Linked DNA regions of Homo sapiens: region 1 is linked to region 2. The links are contacts of gene promoters, found by promoter capture Hi-C in human tissues and cell types (Jung and others, 2019). All regions are on one chromosome and are shown on one strand. Each heading gives the region's core, a stretch centred on a gene start or on the middle of the fragment in contact. The rest is flanking DNA. Distances are from core to core; before and after follow the strand shown. Region 1 overlaps TMEM175 (transmembrane protein 175). Region 2 holds the start of PCGF3 (polycomb group ring finger 3).

The links. Contacts are between HindIII fragments. The study calls those that stand out against the background at their distance.
Region 1: a contact is called between a fragment that was not itself captured here and the fragment with the promoter of PCGF3 in region 2, in 1 of the 25 tissues and cell types used here (lymphoblastoid cells).

Annotation. Positions count from the first base shown.
Region 1 is chr4:939,850-945,468 of GRCh38, reverse strand. The region is part of intron 1 of TMEM175 (transmembrane protein 175); the gene reads right to left. Among named protein-coding and RNA genes, the nearest start is that of TMEM175, 10 kb to the right of the region's middle. RefSeq lists an enhancer at 1-333. The HindIII fragment of the contact is 4,192 bases long and covers 1-3,346 here.
Region 2 is chr4:702,326-708,000 of GRCh38, reverse strand. PCGF3 (polycomb group ring finger 3) reads right to left here and starts at 2,169. Exons shown (of 11, transcript NM_006315.7): 1 at 2,031-2,169. RefSeq lists enhancers at 411-1,395, 1,396-2,381, 3,422-4,149 and a silencer at 1,747-2,446. The HindIII fragment of the contact is 34,476 bases long and covers 1-5,675 here.

The DNA of each region.
Region 1 (5,619 bases), core at 1-2,500, 240 kb before region 2:
GTGGTGGGCGTGAGGCGACGGGAGGGCAGGGACCTGGGGAAAACAGAAACCGAGGCTGGAATGAACGGTGGGGACAGACGGCGGGGAGTGAGACGACAGGACGGCAAAGACGTGGGGAAAACAGAAGCTGAGGCAGCAACAAACGGCGGGGAGTGAGGAGACAGAGACGGCGGGGGCCTGGGGAAACAGAAACTGAGGCAGGAATGTAAACGGACATGTGTGTTTCAGCGACAGTTTAGCAACAGTTAATAAGGTGTAGTGCCATACCCTCCAAGGGTCCATTCCAGGCAGTCTCACTGGGACTGCCATGACAGGCTGCCTAGGGTCTGCACTGAGGCAACACGCAGTTTTTCTTTTTTTCTTTTTGAGACAGGGTCTCAGTCTGTTGCCCACGCTGGAGGGCAGTGGCGTAATCACGGCTCACTGCAGCCTCGACCTCCTAGGCTCAAGTGATCCTCCCACCTCAGCCTCCTGTGTTGCTGGGACTACAGGCGTGCACCACCAAGCCTGGCTAATTTTTTGTATTTTTCATAGAGACAGGGGTTTCATCATGTTGCCCAGGCTGGTCTTGAAGTCCTGGGCTCAAGCAATCTCCTTGCCTCAGCCTCCCAAAGTGCTTGGATTACAGGCGAGAGCCACCGCAGCCAGCCCGGTGTGTTTTAACAATAAAACTAAAACACATTCTGACTAGTAAGGGACAAATCATTAAACCATGAAGTAAACTATCAGAAAGTTAAAACAGATCTACAAGTATAGAACTATAAAACAAAATGTTGAGACAAAAAAATCAAGTTGCAAAACCATACTATTGTACCATTTATGTAAACAATGGACACATAAAACCATCTATCTTCTTAATTATACACACACCGTATGTGTATACGGTAAGAAATGAAAACCACAAATAAGAACAATGTTCGCCAACTTCCAGACAGCGCTGCAGCAACCCAGGCAGGGAGGGGCGGGGAGCAGGTGGGGGGCTTTTGCTCTATGCCCAGGTTACTTCTTACCTAGAATGCAGACAGGCATGTAACCACAGCTAGCCACAATCCAGCAAACTGTTCTATCCCCAAACAGCATCTTTGTGTTCAAGCTTCCCCAACCCCAAGCTCCAGCAACCACTGATCTGTTTTCTGTCACTGTAATTTTGCCTCGTTTATTTAGTTAATTATTTTTTTGAGACAGTCTTGCTCTGTCGCCCAGGCTGGATTGCAGTGGCACGATCGCAGCTCACTGCAACCTCCGCCTCCTGGGTTCAAGCGATTCTTGTGCCTCAGCCTCCCGAGCAGCTGGGATTACAGGCACCAGCCACCATGCCTGGCTAATTTTTGTATTTTTAGTACAGACAGGGTTTCACCATGATTCCCAGGCTGGTGTCAAACTCCTGACCTCAGGTGATCCACCTACCTTGGCCTCCCGAAATGCTGGGATTGCATGCGTGAGCCACTGCACCCAGCCAATTTTGCCTTTTTTAGAATGTGGTATAAACGGAATCGCACCCTCCAGAGGTTTTGAGTCTAGCTTCTTTCGAGACTCATCTGTGGTGCTGGGAGTATCAGTAACACACTTCTTTGGTTGCTGTGTGGTAATTTCACTGCATGGACACACCTCAGTTTGTGGATCCACTTACCAGCTGAAAAACGTGTGTATTGTTTCATTTTGCACAATTATGAATAAAGCCACTATATATAAACGTTTGCACACAGGCATTTGTGTAAACATGTTTTCATGACTTTTGGGTAAATGCCTTTGAGTGGTTTTGCTGGGTCGTATTGTAAGGACATGTTTCCTTCCTGAGAAACCACCCGACAATTTGCCGAGGCAGCTGCACCATCTGCATTCCCACCGACAGGCATGAGACCTGCGCTTGCTCATCTCCTCTGGTACTCAGTTTGGCACAGCTTAGAGAAATAATTTAGCTGGGCGCGGTGGCTCATGCCTGTAATCCCAGAACTTTGGGAGGCCGAGGCGGGCAGATCACTTGAGGTCCGGAGTTCGAGACCAGCCTGGCTAACATGGTGAAACCCCATCTCTACTAAAAATACAAAAATTAGCTGGGTGTGGTGGCACACACCTGTAATCCCAGCTACTCGGGAGGCTGAGGCAGGAGAATTGCTTGATCCCAGAAAGTGGACGTTGCGGTGAGCCAAGATCGTGCCACTGCACTCCAGGCTGGGAGACAGAGTAAGACTCCGTCTAGGAAAAAAATAGTAATAATAAAAATCAATAATTCAATTAATTTATTTTAGTCATTCTAGTACTCGTGTAGGGGTGTCTCATTGTGGTTTTAATCTGCTATTTCTCTACTGACTAATTAGGCATCTTTCATCTGTATAGCTTTCACAGTGAAGTGTCTTAGAATCTTTGCTTGTTTACTGAGTTGTTTGTAATGTCATTGAGTTTTGAGAGTTCTTTATATTCTAGTTAAAAATCCTGCAAGATGTGTAATTTGGAAATATTTTCTTGCAGTCTGTGGCTTGTCTTTTCACTCTCTTACCAGTCTTTAGGAGAACAGAAGTTCTGAATTTTGGCTGGGCGCAGTGGCTCACACCTGTAATCCCAGCATTTTGGGAGGCAGAGGCGGGCGGATCACCTGAGATGAGGGGTTCAAGACCAGCCTGGCCAACATGGCAAAACCCCATCTCTACTAAAAATACAAAAATTAGCTGGACGTAGTGGTGTGCGCCTGTAGTCCCAGCTACTCAGGAGGCTGAAGCAAGAGAATCGCTTGAACCTGGGAGGCGAAGGTTGCAGTGAGCTGAGATTGCACCACTGTACGCCATCCTGGGTGACAGAGTGAGACTCTGTCTCAAAAAGAAAAAAAAAAAAAAAGAAAATTCAAGGAACCTTAACAGCCAAAATAATATTGAAAAAGAACAAAATTGGGAGCACTCCCACTTTCTGATTTCAAAATTTAGTACAAAGCTACAGTAGTCAAGACAGCATAGACACAGACCAATGGAATATAGTTCAGAAATAAACCCCTACATTTATGGTTAACTGATTTTGACAAGGATGCCGAGACCACTCGATGGGAAAAGAAAAGTCTTTTTCACAAATGGTGTTGGGACAACTGAATATCCACATGCAAAAGAATGAATTCGGGCCGGGCATGGTGGCTCATGCCCAAAATCCCAGCACTTTGGGAGGCTGAGGAAGGCGGATCACAAGGTCAGGAGATCGAGATCATCCTGGCCAAGATGGTGAAACCTCGTCTCTACTAAAAATACAAAAATTAGCTGGGCATGGTTGCACGTGCCTGTAGTCCCAGCTACTCAGCTACTCGAGAGGCTGAGGCAGGAGAATCGCTTGAACCCGGGAGGCGGAGGTTGCAGTGAGCCGAGATCGCACCACTGCACTCCAGCCTAGCAATAGAGAGAGACTCTATCTCAAAAAAAAAAGAAAAAAAAAGAATGAATTCGGACTCAACCTAATTAATACACATACAAAAGTTAACTCGAAGTGGATCAATGATGTAAATGTAAGAGTTAAAACTATAAAACTCTTGGAAGATGATGCCGGAGAAAATCATTTCATGACATTGGGTTTGACAAAATATTCTTTTTTTTTCTTTTTTTATAAAGACATGGGGTCTATGTGGCCCAGGCTGGGCTCTAGCAATTCTCCTGCCTCGGCCTCCCAAGTAGCTGGGATTATAGGAATGAGCCACCACGCCTGGCCAAAATTGATTTTTTCTTTAAGCCGTTTTAGGTTTATAGAAAAACTTAGCAGAGGCCGGGCGCGGTGGCTCACTCCTGTAATCCCAGTACTTTGGGAGGCCAAGGTGGGCGGATCACCTGATGTCAGGAGTTCAAGACCAGCCTGGCCAACATGAAACCCCACCTCTACTAAAAATACAAAAATTAGCTGGGTGTGGTGGTACGCGTCTGTAATTCCAGCTACTCGGGAGTTTGACGCAGGAGTATTTCTTGAACCAGGGAGGCAGACGCTGCCGTGAGCCGAGATTACGCCACTGCACTGCAACCTGAGTGACAGAGCCAGACTCCATCTCAAGAAAAAAAAAAAAAAGAAAAATAGAGCAGAAAGTACAGAGTTTTTTTTGTTTTGTTTCTTTTTTTTTTTTTTTTTTTTGAGACAGAGTTTCGCTCTTGCTACCCAGGCTGGAGTGCAATGGCACGATCTCGGCTCATTGCAACCTCTGCCTCCTGGGTTTAAACGATTCTCCTGTGTCAGCCTCCCGAGCAGCTGGGATTACAGGTGCCTGCCATAACACCCAGCTAATTTTTGTATTTTTAGTAGAGATAGGGTTTCACCATGTTGGCCAGGATGGTCTTGAACTCCTGACCTCGTAATCTGCCCACCTTGGCCTCCCAAAGTGTTGGGATTACAGGCGTGAGCCACTGCACCCGGCCCAGAGTTCTTTTATACACTTTCACATCCCCCTTTCCCCTTTCTCCCATTATTATTATTATTATTATTATTATTATTATTATTATTATTTTGAGACGGAGTCTCACTCTGTCACCCAGGCTGGAGTGCAGTGGCACAATCTTGGCTCACTGCAACCTCCGACTCCTGGGTTCAAGCGATTCTCCTGCCTCAGCCTCCTGAGTAGCTGGGATTACAGGCACACGCCACCACGCCTGGCTAATTTTTGTATTTTTAGTAAAGATGGAGTTTCACCATGTTGGTCAGGCTGATCTCGAACTCCTGACCTCGTGATCCACCCACCTCAGCCTCCCAAAATGCTGGGATTACAGGCATGAGCCACCATGTCTGGCCTCCCTTTCTCCTATTATTAACATCTTACATTGGTGTGGCACATACGGCACAATTGACAAGCAAATATTCATACATCACAATTAACCTAAGTCCATAGTTTACATTAGGCTTCATTCTGTGCTGTATTCTATGGGTTTTGACAAATGTAAAATGACTTGTTTTCACCAAAACAGTATCATACAGAATAGTTTAAACACCCTAAAAATCTCTGGTGCTCCACCCTCCCTCTTTCTTCCTGAACCCCTAGCAACTACTGCTTTTTTTTTTTTTTTTTTTTGAGATCGAGTTTCACTCTTGCTGCCCAGGCTGGAGTGCAATGGTGCAATCTCGGCTCACTGCAACCTCCAGCTCCCAGGTTCAAGTGATTCTCCTGTCTCAGCCTCCTGAGTAGCTGGGATTACAGGCGCATGCCACCACGCCCAGCTAATTTTGTATTTTTAGTAAAGGTGGGGCTTCACCATGTTGGCCAGGCTGGTCTCGAACTCCAGACCTCAGTTGATCTGACTGCCTTGGCCTCCGAAAGTGCTGGGATTACAGGCGTGAGCCACTGCGCCTGGCCTACTGCTCTTTTTACTGTCTTCATAATTTTGCCTTTTCCAGAATGTTCTATAGTTAGAATCATACAGTATGGAACCTTTTCAGATTGGCTTCTTTCATTGAGCAATATGCATTTAAGGTTCCTTCAAGTCTTGTTGTTGCTTGATAGCTTATCTTTTTATTATTGAATGCTACCCTATGTTATGGACTTACAGGTTATCTATTCACCTATTGTTCATATGGGCTATTTTCAACAGCATATTATAAAGTTCTTCACGCTGATGAAATCCAGTTTATCTGTTTCCTTCATGGGATCAAGCTTTTAGTGTCATGGCTAAA
Region 2 (5,675 bases), core at 920-3,419:
CCCAGGGTCCCGACCCCCAGGGGAAAACAGGGCTGTCCCAGGGTCCCGGCCCCCAGGGGAAAACAGGGCTGTCCCAGGGTCCCGACCCCCAGGGGAAAACAGGGCTGTCTCAGGGTCCCGACCCCCAGGTGAAAACAGGGCTGTCCCAGGGTCCCGACCCCCAGGGGAAAACAGGGCTGTCCCAGGGTCCCGGCCCCCAGGGGAAAACAGAGCTGTCCCAGGGTCCCGGCCCCCAGGTGAAAACAGAGCTGTCTCAGGGTCCCGGCCCCCAGGTGAAAACAGAGCTGTCTCAGGGTCCCGGCCCCCAGGGGAAAACAGAGCTGTCCCAGGGTCCCGACCCCCAGGGGAAAACAGGGCTGTCCCAGGGTCCCGACCCCCAGGGGAAAACAGAGCTGTCCCAGAGTCCCGACCCCCAGGGGAAAACAGAGCTGTCCCAGGGTCCCGACCCCCAGGGGAAAACAGGGCTGTCCCAGGGTCCCGGCCCCCGGGTGAAAACAGGCTGTCCCAGGGTCCCGGCCCCCAGGGGAAAACAGGGCTGTCTCAGGGTCCCGGGGGAGACGGGGCAGTCTCAGGGTCCCAGCAGTGCTCACAGGACTCACAAGACTGCTCCAGGGTCAGGTCCTCCTGAATTATGGTCATGGGGTCCTGGCCCTCGTCTGTGACCCACTTTAAGGCAGGACCTTCCTGGGGGATCTATTCTGGGGTCCTGGCATTCTTTGGATTCTGCCTGGTCCCTACGTCTGGCCCTCCTCCGTGATTCTTCCCAGGGTCCTAGCCCCCCCGGGCCCTGCCAGGTGGCCAGGTCCGACCCTCCTTGGTGACCCATCTTGGGGTCCCAGCCCTTCTCGGTGACCTGTCCCAGGGTCAGACCCTCCTGGATGATGTGTCATTGTGTCCTAGCACTCTGGGGGTCCTGTGCAATCCCAGAGCCCAACTCTCTTCAGGTCCTGCCTGGTCTGAAGACCCAGCCCTCCCGGGGTCCTGCCTGGGCTGGGGTCGCGACCTTCCCAGGGTCCTGCCTGGGCTGGGGTCCCTACCCTCCCGCGGTCCTGCCTGGGCTGGGGTCTTTGCCCTCACCTGGGTCCTGCCTGGTCTGGGGTCTTCGCCCTCCCTGGGTCCTGCCTGGGCTGGGGTCGCGACCTTCCCAGGGTCCTGCCTGGTCTGGGGTCCCTGCCCTCCCGCGGTCCTGCCTGGGCTGGGGTCTTCGCCCTCACCTGGGTCCTGCCTGGTCTGGGGTCTTCGCCCTCCCTGGGTCCTGCCTGGGCTGGGGTCGCGACCTTCCCAGGGTCCTGCCTGGTCTGGGGTCCCTGCCCTCCCGCGGTCCTGCCTGGGCTGGGGTCTTCGCCCTCCCTGGGTCCTGCCTGGTCTGGGGTCTTGGCCCTCCCGGGGTCCTGCCTGGTCTGGGGTCCCTGCCCTCCCGCGGTCCTGCCTGGGCTGGGGTCTTCGCCCTCCCTGGGTCCTGCCTGGTCTGGGGTCTTGGCCCTCCCGGGGTCCTGCCTGGTCTGGGGTCTTGGCCCTCCCTGTTCTGGGGTCTTTGCCCTCCCTGGGTCCTGCCTGGGCTGGGGTCTTCGACCTCCCGGAGTCCTGCCTGGGCTGGGGTCTTGCCCTCCCTGCGTCCTGCCTGGACTGGGGTCTTGCCCTCCCTGCGTCCTGCCTGGGCTGCTGTCCCAGCCCTCCCTGGGTCCTGCCTGGGCTGGGGTCTTCGACCTCCCGGAGTCCTGCCTGGGCTGGGGTCTTGCCCTCCCTGCGTCCTGCCTAGGCTGGAGTCCCAGCCCTCCCGGGGTCCTGCCTGGGCTGGGCTCTTGGCCCTCCCGGAGTCCTGCCTGGGCTGGGGTCTTCGACCTCCCGGAGTCCTGACTGGGCTGGGGTGCCGGCCCTCCCGGGCCTGCCAAGGGCTTCCCGGGCCAGGCCGACGGGGACGACGGAGCGCGGGCCCGGGGTTCGGAGCCTTCCGGGCCGGACACGGGCCGAGGCCGCAGCCTGAGGAGCGGGCGCCGAGGGCCCAGGCCAGGCGGGGCGGACTCACTGACCTGCGGTCTCGGGGCTGCGGGCGAGCAAGGCGCACGCGGGGTCCGCGCCGGAGGGGGGAGGGGGCGCCGCTCCCTCTGGGTCCCCCCCAAGAGGAGGAGAAAAAAGCCCGTCCGGAGTTTAAAACAAAGAGGCGGAAATGCCCGAGCCGAGCCGAGCGCCGCGTCGGGGGCGCCGCGCTCGGAGCATGCGCGGTGTGCGTCTGGGCTCCCACCCCGCGGCAAGGGGCGTGGGCGGGGCCAGGCGGTAAGGGGTGGGGATAGGGGCGGGGAGGGGCGTGTTCAGAGGGCGCAGGCGCGTCGGGCCTGGACTCGGCGGAGGGAGCCGCGGGGCGCGAGGGCCAGGGGCGAGGCATAGGGCGGGGCCATGAGGGGCGTGGTCAGGAGAGCGACAGGGCCGCGCTGTGCTGAGGGACCCGACGGGTCCTGGACGATCGTGAGCTGGGGCGCTGGAGCAGCAGAGTCCTCAGGCCCGGGTCCCTCCGGGGGTGCCGTCCAGTACGGGTGCTGCTGTCCTTTGTGGGAGCCGGGACTGAGCGCCCTCCCGGCAGGGTTAAGGGTCGGTGTTAGGGTCAGGGGTCGGGTTAGGGGTCAGAGTCAGGGTTAGGGTTGGGTTTAGGTTTAGGGTCAGGGTTAGGGGTTAGAGTCAGGGTTAGGACTGGGTTTAGGGCTAGGGTCAGCATTAGGGGTTAGGGTTAGGGTTGGGTTTATGGTTAGGGTCAGGATTAGGGGTGGGGTCAGGGTCAGGGGTTAGGGTCTGGTCTAGGGTTAGGGTTGGGTTTAGGGTTAGGGTCAGGGTTAGGGTTAGGGTTGGGTTTTAGGGTTAGGGTCAGGGTTAGGGTTAGAGTCAGGGTTAGGACTGGATTTAGGGTTAGGGTCAGCATTAGGGGTTAGGGTTAGGGTTGGTTTTACGGTTAGGGTCAGGATTAGGGGTAGGGTCAGAGTTAGGGGTTAGGTTTAGGGTTAGGGTTGGGTTTAGGGTTAGGGTCAGGATTAGGGGTGGGGTCAGGGTCAGGGGTTCGGGTCTGGTCATGTTTAGGCTTGTATTTAGGTTATGTTCAGCATCAGGACGGACAGGGCACCCACGTGCGGACTCTCCGACCTGGGTGCCCTCCGCCAGGGTGGAGCAGTACGGGCGGCATTTGCGCCTTCGTGGGACTGGCACTGTCCTGAGAGGGCGGGATCCGAGGACCGAGGGCGCGTGCGGGGGTGAGGCGGACGTGCAGGCACGCGGGGTCCTAGGGTCTCCCGGTTTGCGGGTTCTGGGCTGGCGGCCCAGGACGGGAGGGCAGGTTGGGTCTTGGGTGGGAAGCGAGACCACTGTGGTTCCGGGCGGCGGGGCACCGCGCAGTGTGGAGGCTTGGTGGCGAGAGGGGAGGCCCCGTAGGCCCAGGGGCACTCGCTGCGAGGCTGTGCGGTGCAGGCATGGAGCAGGAGTCGGGAGTCATTAGCTCGTCCCGTCTGGAGAGGTGGTGGCTGAGGGAGTGACCCTGCGACTGTCCCCGTGAAGTCTAGAGTTGGACCCCGGGAGCAGCCACCAGGCAGGGGGCCCCGGGCCCAGGTATGGTGCAGCACGTGGGGAAGCGGCTTGAGTCCGCTGCTGAGAGGGGCCTGAGAAGGGCTGGGGGCCTGCTGAGATCTCCAGCACTGGGTGGACACGTTATCCGGGTGGGAGGAGGACAGACAGCAGACATGTGAATGTGTACAGCATTCCCAGGCATGCTGCTGTGAAGGGGAGGGACTAAATGTGGCCACTGCTGCCCCCGGGGGAGGGGAGGCAGGGAGGGCTCCGTGGAGCCATGGGGTGGCCCAGTGCAGGGGAGGGGCCCACTGGAGAGGGCTGCCTGGGATTGGGGTACTGGGGTGCTGGCCCTCCACAAGAGCCCTGACTGCAGTTTTCAGTTGGTGGAGGCAGGCCCCAGATGTGGAGGGGAGGACTGGAGGATCATCCCAGAAGGAGGGCAGGGGCAAGGTATTGGTGCTGGGGTGCAAGGGGCAGGGGGTGGCCAGCAGGCCAGGAACAGTCCTGGGCTGAGTGTGGTGGCCTCAGGAAGAGGCAGAGTGGTAAGCTGCAGTTCAGAACTCACTCCAGGCCCCAGGCCCCTCCTCAAGGAGGTGCAGACCCTACCCCTAGGCTTCCCACTACTCTCCTGGGTGGGTGCCAGCGGTGCCCGGACCTTGACTCTGAGCCCTGGGCTCTTGTGTCCAGCTCTGTTTCTGCTGAATGTCATTAGGAAGCTTAAATGCCACATGGCCGGATGGCTTCCCCAGGCCATCCTGAGTCTGCTGTGTACCCCAGGACCCCCCACCCCCCACCGCCAGTCCTGAGGCAAGACCCCAGAGTCCTCTGCACCCTCTTCCTCTCATGCCCAAACTGGCCATCCATGGCCCATCGGCAGCCAGCCAGGTCTCCCACCTGCACCCTCCTGGGACCTCACTCAGCCAAGGCCCGAGGGTGGAGGCATCGGGGCCAAAGAAGCCTAGGGTGTTGGCAGTGTGTGCTGTCCTGGTGTGAGTTCGGGGTGTGCACATATTACATACAGGCACGTATTCCTTAGCAGAGCTGTAAAGAAGGGAGGCAGGAATCATGGCACAAGCAGACTGGAGTAGAGGGGAGGCCCCTGTCCCCCCCAGAGGGTGCCCCAACCTTCCCCAGGGTGCCGGTCCGCCCTCCCTGCCCACCCAGTCACTAGGGCCTCCTAGGGCCATTGGGTGCCTCTCTGGCAGATCATTCTGGTCACTCACAAACTGGCAGAGGGTCTGCCCATCCTTGAGGATGGAGCAGAACAGAAAGAGCTCGCTGGACCCTGTGCTTCTCTGCTGTCTTCACAGCGTCACTCTTCAGGAACTCTTTCTCCAATTTCCCTCCCCGAGTTCTCTCTTAAGCACATCAGGCATCTGCGCCTACCCCCATGTCTCAACCAAATGCTCCAGGACTTTGTGGGGTAAATCCAACTGCCTTTGTCACCACCCTTTCTGTTGCTGGGGTACAGACATGTGGTCTTGTTCCCAATTGCTCTCTTCTGTTTTCATCAGAAAGTCCTGCCAGCTCTGTCTTGGAAACTTCCCATCATCCAACCATGGCTTTCCAAGGCTGCTCTGGCCCAAACCCGCCCTGTCCTGCTGGAACTGGTGCCACAGCCTTGGGCCCCCCACCCCCAGTCAATCCTCAACAGAGCAGCCAACCAGCGGGTCCCGTCACACCCAAGTGGGAGCGCTCCACCCAGCGCGTGATGATAAGGACGTCCTCTGAGGTCCCTGCTCCCACCTCTGCCTGTTTCCCCAAGCTCACTCCACCCAGAGCTCTCCCTGACACTCACTCACCTTGTTGGCAAGGCTGTCAGGAAACAGGGCTCTCAGACGTGAGTGGTGGGAGCAGAGGAGCGTTTGACAGTATCCAGCAAAGTACACGGGCATTTATCCTTCAGCCCAGTGGCCCCCAAATAGGACTTTATTCCAGAGATAAATGGCAGGAATAAAAAAGATGGATGACCAAGGCTATTAATTGCAGCATAATGTATAACAGAAAAATTGAAAACATGGCCATCCACACGGTTAATCGGATACACTCTTGAACCTCCACACCTTGGATAGTGAATAAAGAAGAGATAAAGATAAAGAAGACTGATAAAGAAGAGACTGATGGTA